2 separate regions of the Homo sapiens genome follow, and region 1 is linked to region 2. Evidence: promoter capture Hi-C in 16 types of primary human blood cells and fetal thymus (Javierre and others, 2016). All regions are on one chromosome and are shown on one strand. Each heading gives the region's core, a stretch centred on a gene start or on the middle of the fragment in contact. The rest is flanking DNA. Distances are from core to core; before and after follow the strand shown.

Evidence for each region. The method cuts DNA at HindIII sites, captures the fragments that hold promoters and counts their contacts. A CHiCAGO score of 5 or more calls a contact.
Region 1: the fragment with the promoter of SRSF6 here is called in contact with the fragment with the promoter of AURKA in region 2 in 1 of 17 cell types (fetal thymus); the score reaches 8.0 in fetal thymus.

What each region holds. Positions count from the first base shown.
Region 1 is chr20:43,456,615-43,459,356 of GRCh38, reverse strand. SRSF6 (serine and arginine rich splicing factor 6) reads right to left here and starts at 1,461. Exons shown (of 6, transcript NM_006275.6): 1 at 1,217-1,461; 2 at 848-996. The coding sequence starts at 1,323. RefSeq lists silencers at 675-934, 945-1,044 and enhancers at 1,185-1,284, 716-1,663, 1,585-1,744, 1,805-2,124. The HindIII fragment of the contact is 2,232 bases long and covers 350-2,581 here.
Region 2 is chr20:56,390,765-56,393,464 of GRCh38, reverse strand. AURKA (aurora kinase A) reads left to right here and starts at 1,250. Exons shown (of 9, transcript NM_198437.3): 1 at 1,250-1,297. It overlaps CSTF1 (cleavage stimulation factor subunit 1), which reads right to left and starts at 820. Exons shown (of 6, transcript NM_001324.3): 1 at 752-820. RefSeq lists an enhancer at 865-1,104. The HindIII fragment of the contact is 5,454 bases long and covers 983-2,700 here.

The sequences.
Region 1 (2,742 bases), core at 212-2,711, about 13 Mb after region 2:
TCAGATTAACCAGTTTTGTCTAACCCTTGGAATCCTCACCATCACCCTGCGTCTAATGGCAAAAGGCTGCTGTCGTCATGGCTTCCGGTAAGGTCAGCCAAAGGGTCATAGGGCAAGGGTCACACAATGTATGGAAAAGCCAAGGCCAATCAGGAAAGGCAGTCATCTTAGCCTCAGTGGACACAGCCTCAGCCCCATTGGTCACTTTCAAATTGAAACATCAAGGACTTGTTAAAAAGTTTGAATTCAACATGCAACAATTTAAACATCAAACATTTAACATAACCAAAAATCCCCCCAACCTCCTCCCAATAACATGCCCCAATTAGTTCAAATACAGCATAAAGCTTATTTAGATCTACTTTGTGGTACAATACCACATTACTTAAAAATAGTACATTCTTTGGCCCCCATCAAGTTCCATAGCTTTAAGACCTATACTTTATGCTCCTCCCCTTCCCCGTCCCCCGCGCCCCCTACCCCACCTCCACCCGAGCCTGCCCCCGAACCTCTAACTAATGCACTGATAGGTAAGTAAGGAGAATACAACAAATACAGCCACCCCTTACTTCCTCTGTGGGAAGAACCCGTGACAGTGCTGACAAGGGGCCAGAAGAAGCCACCCACCTCCCAACTTGGCAAATAAACAAAACCAAACACCCAAACCCAATCCCCGCGCTCCGGCGTCCCATGGCTGCCCCGGGCAGACGTGAAGGCAGCGGGGCTCGGGGACACCCAAGTCAAACGACCCCCGGCCCTCGCGCCTGCCCGGGCTGGGAGGCCCCACCCCACCCACCCCCGCCCCCAGGGTCCCCAAGGGCGCGGAGCGCGCGGGGGTGGGACTCACTGCGGCTTCCGTAGCTGTAGCCGTCGCGATCGCGACGCGGGCCCCGGGCGTGCTCTACGATCACGCGCTCGCCGCAGAGCTCCTTGCCGTTCAGCTCGTAAACGGCGTCGTCGGCGTCGCGGGAGTCCTCGAACTCCACGAAGCCGTACCTAGGGGCGGTGCGAGGGCCGGACAACCGCGGGGGAGTCGTTAGCCAGGACGCGCACGTGCGCGCGCCCGTACCCCACCGCGCGCCCCCGCGACGCCGCGCCGTCGCCATCTTTGAGGCCCTGCCACGCGGCGCCGCGGCCTTGGCCGCTTCTTTCCTTGGAGAGTTCCCGCCGCCACCAGGCCTGGGACGCTGGGCGCGGGCGCCCAGGCCCGACTCACCCATTTTTGAGGTCTACTTCGAGGAGGCGGCCATAGCCACTGAAAAAGCGCTGGATGTCCTTCTCCCGGACGTTGTAGCTCAGGCGTCCTATGTAGACGCGCGGCATGTCCGTGGCGGGCGGGGACCCAAGGGCTGGTTGTCGAACGGCGGACCGCAAGCCAGTAACCGCGGTGCGGGTGCGGGGACGGCAAGAGCCCGAACACGCGCCTCACACCACAGGGGCGGCCGAGTCCAGCCACACAATGGCGCGCGCGCGCGCCAGGCTTTCGCTATATGGGCGGCCGGTGGGGCGGGGCCTGGAGCGTGATGTCAGCGCGCAGCGGCACGTCCGTCCCGCGTCGTCCCTGGGCTAGATGGTGACTGGCGAGTCCGTTGCCCGCGACGTTTCGGTGTAGTGCGGTCTTGCTAGCTTCTAGGATTTTTCTCTAGCCCTCCCCACCGTCTTTGAAAACACAATGTCTCTAATCCAGCCGCAGAACTGCTTTCTAATTTGTACCTTTTATAAAACTGTGCGCGATCTCTTCGGGGTTGAAGCTCGGGAGGCGGGCTGAGCGAATCCCCGTTTTTCATTGGTTCTCGAGGTTATCATAATAGGTCGCCGCGGTCTCTGCTTGGTGGCTTAAAACGAGGCTGCGGATTTCTCCCAGCGATTGGTTGATGCTCGTTTTGATGGGGACCGCGGTCTCGGACCCAGTCGCTTGTCTTGTTTCGCAGAATCTGAGGATCGCGCGCCGAGGTCTTGCTGACCGGGCGGAGGTCGCGTTGCGAGCGCGCAGACCCGCCGACATCAGCCTCTCCGGGTCTCACTCGCAGCCTTCGCCTCCCCGGACGTTCCCCTCTCCCTCCATGGGTCTTTCTTGGAGCCCTGGCAGCTTGACTCACTTGTGGATTGGGCTATCCGTGGCAATCCTACGCTCACTGTAGGTGCTCAAAAGGGAGCGTGGACGAGACCCGGCAGCCCTCCCACAGCGACGAACGATTTTTTTTCTCCCGTGTATGGAAAGTCCTTTGTCCCAATACTATCATTTCCTCCACTGACTTGAAAGTGCCTTATTTTGTGAGTTTATCAATGGAGATGCTATTTAAAGCTGTAGAACCAGATTGAAAACCTCAAAGGAGTAAGTTTAAGTGGAGAGCGGAAGACCCAGGCCAACGCCTGGGGTACTCTGAAATTTAAGCGCAGGAAAGGAGACTGGGAGGAGTGACTAGCGAGGTAGGGAGAAGACCAGGAGAGTAGGTGTCACCGCCGAAGCTAAAAAAAAAAAAAAAAAAAAAAAGGGATATCACTGAGATAACACCAGCTCTTTAGATATTTATGTATTCCTGCTCTGTTTTGAGTGGTGCAACCTCAATATCCTTAAGCTTCGGGTTGAAAAAGGGGGGTTTTGTCCTCCTGGAGCTATTTGGAAGTCTAGAGGGAAACGTTGTTTGTCACGACTGGGGGAGGTAGAGGCCGTGCTTAAAGTTAGATAAATAAAAAATACGAGTCTGTAATCCCCACACCTTGGGAAGCTGAGGCAAGAGG
Region 2 (2,700 bases), core at 1-2,500:
AAATCACAAGTGGGTAGTCTGGCAAAGAAAAGTTGATGAGAGATTCTACTGTTAACGTTGGGTTAATATGACTCGAATAATTTCCGTATGCTAGCTCAATGCTTTACATGCACATCCTGTTTACCCTGCAGTAATCTGTTAATTCGTCTTATGTGAATTTAACTCTTAGTCCTAATAAGGTACCTGGAAGGATGGAGGGAAGCCATTTTTGGTTCCCCTACACCACTGTTCTATCCGGTCTCTTCACTTCTGCTGAGCACATCCCGGGTGTACATACACACACACACACACACATATGTGTGTGTATATATATGTATATGTGTGTGTGTGTGTATATATATATATATTTTAAGTGGCCCACCCCTAACTTCTCAACTCCCACAGAACGTTCACTCGCCAGGTAAACAGAAGCCTAATTATCCCCAATTTGCAGGTGAGCACACGAGGACAAGAACCCGATCCAGGACCGGATACATCGCAGTTGGAAAGGCTAGAACACAGATGCCCCCTCACTATATGCGCCGCGACCATCTGGATGCAGAGGCGAACTAAGGACTGGGTGGGAATGGAAGCGAGGCCCTTCGAGAAGAGGAAGGGGTGCAGGCCAAGCCGGGCAACTTAGGAAACGCAAAGTAGAGGCGCATGCCACCTTGCTAACTCTCGACTCTTCCAGTCTCGCCCCAGTCGTTTCTGTGGTTTTCTCTAAATGCCCCAGCCGACCGCACCAGCTACTCTCCCCGTGTCCCAGTACCAGCTGGTCCGGTTCTCTTGGTATCCCGCTCTCTCCTGGAAAAATGGAGGCGCGAATCCTGCCCAATCTACCGCTCCGAGCGCACGTTCACTGCGCACGCTGAAAGGGCGCCAAGCCGACCGCTGCGCTATCGATCGGTCCCACTCTCTCTTGCTTTTCTCGCCATCTTACTTACTGGCACGTTCAAAGGTTAGTTCACCTCCTTGGACTTTATCTCCAATGCGTCAAGCTTGACGTCAAGGGGCTGTTGCTTCACCGATAAATGGCCGACCGCGGAGAGCACCCTGGGGCTGGGACTGCCACAGGTCTGGCTGGCCGTTGGCTCCACCACTTCCGGGTTCTTAGGGAGCAAGTGCGCCTGCGCGCGGTGTGCGCCCTTAAACGCGACTCAAGGCGTCGGGTTTGTTGTCAACCAATCACAAGGCAGCCTCGCTCGAGCGCAGGCCAATCGGCTTTCTAGCTAGAGGGTTTAACTCCTATTTAAAAAGAAGAACCTTTGAATTCTAACGGCTGAGCTCTTGGAAGACTTGGGTCCTTGGGTCGCAGGTGGGAGCCGACGGGTGGGTAGACCGTGGGGGATATCTCAGTGGCGGACGAGGACGGCGGGGACAAGGGGCGGCTGGTCGGAGTGGCGGAGCGTCAAGTCCCCTGTCGGTTCCTCCGTCCCTGAGTGTCCTTGGCGCTGCCTTGTGCCCGCCCAGCGCCTTTGCATCCGCTCCTGGGCACCGAGGCGCCCTGTAGGATACTGCTTGTTACTTATTACAGCTAGAGGTACAAGGGGTTTGTTGAGTGGTGTTGACATGCGCGGGAGGGGTGGGTGGGCTTCAGATTGGATTTTGTCCTCCGAGATCACCTGGGTAAGAAAAGCACAGAAGGTCTCTGCTGTGTTGGAGTTCACGTTCTAGTGGGTGGGGAGACAGACGGTAAGCGTACGGAGAACTTGCAGCTGGGGTGGGTGTTACAGAGGAAAAGCAGGAGTGCGGTTTAACGGGGGCCGCTTTAGATAGAATAGCCTAAGAAGGCCCTTGTCCTGGCTGGATGAGTGGGTGAATTGATGAATGAGAACCTCCTTGCAGAGGCCTTCCCGGTCCGTACTTCTCAGACCGTAGACCTTGGAGCAGTTGTACCGGGATAACTTGCAGTGCTTGTTAAACATATAGCTCCACCGAGAGCCCGGTAAATCAGAATCTCTGAGGGGTAGGACCCAGGTGTCTAGTTATTAACAAACTCTCCAGATGATTCTTAGGTTTCATTGAGAACTAGGGATGCAGACCGGTGCATACAAATCGTCTGGGGACGTTAAAATGCAGAATCTGTTTTTTTAGACCTGGGGTTAGGCCTCAGAGTCTCCATTTCTAAGAACCATCCGGCTGAGGTAGACGTAGCCACTGTCCTTAACTCTCGTAATGTCTCTTCCTCTTCCGTAACCTTCCTTGTCCCTTGAATTAAACGTTTTTCAGCAACCTACTCAGTTCGTCCTTCCCTTCATCTCTGCAGACATGCACAGGTCTGAGGGAGGAAGGAATAAACCGTATAAACCTCCTGCGCTATTAGCCTAACAGCTTTTCTATTCAAAATAGTAGGACTTCTGGTTTGAACTGAATGGATCCTGTGAAAGTCATCTGGTTCTTCAATCTGGTTGCAGATTAGAGTCACCTGAAGGGCAGTCTCCTTGGCGTTGTCTCCAGAATTCTGGATTAGAATCTTATTCCATTCTGCTTGTTATTCAATTTCCCTAGAAAGAAAGGTAGAATAAATTGGAGCAAATGCCTGTAGCTTCTGTCAGAAGAATGTTGAATAAATGTTGTTAGGCCTATGTGATCTCATTAGACTGCTACTTAGAATTGTAAGGGAAGTAAAGCATTAGAGCATGTGTGAAATTAAATATTTGATTAACACAAGTGTGCATTTCCTTGTTGCTGTTTATCAACTTTTACTTACCCACTGTT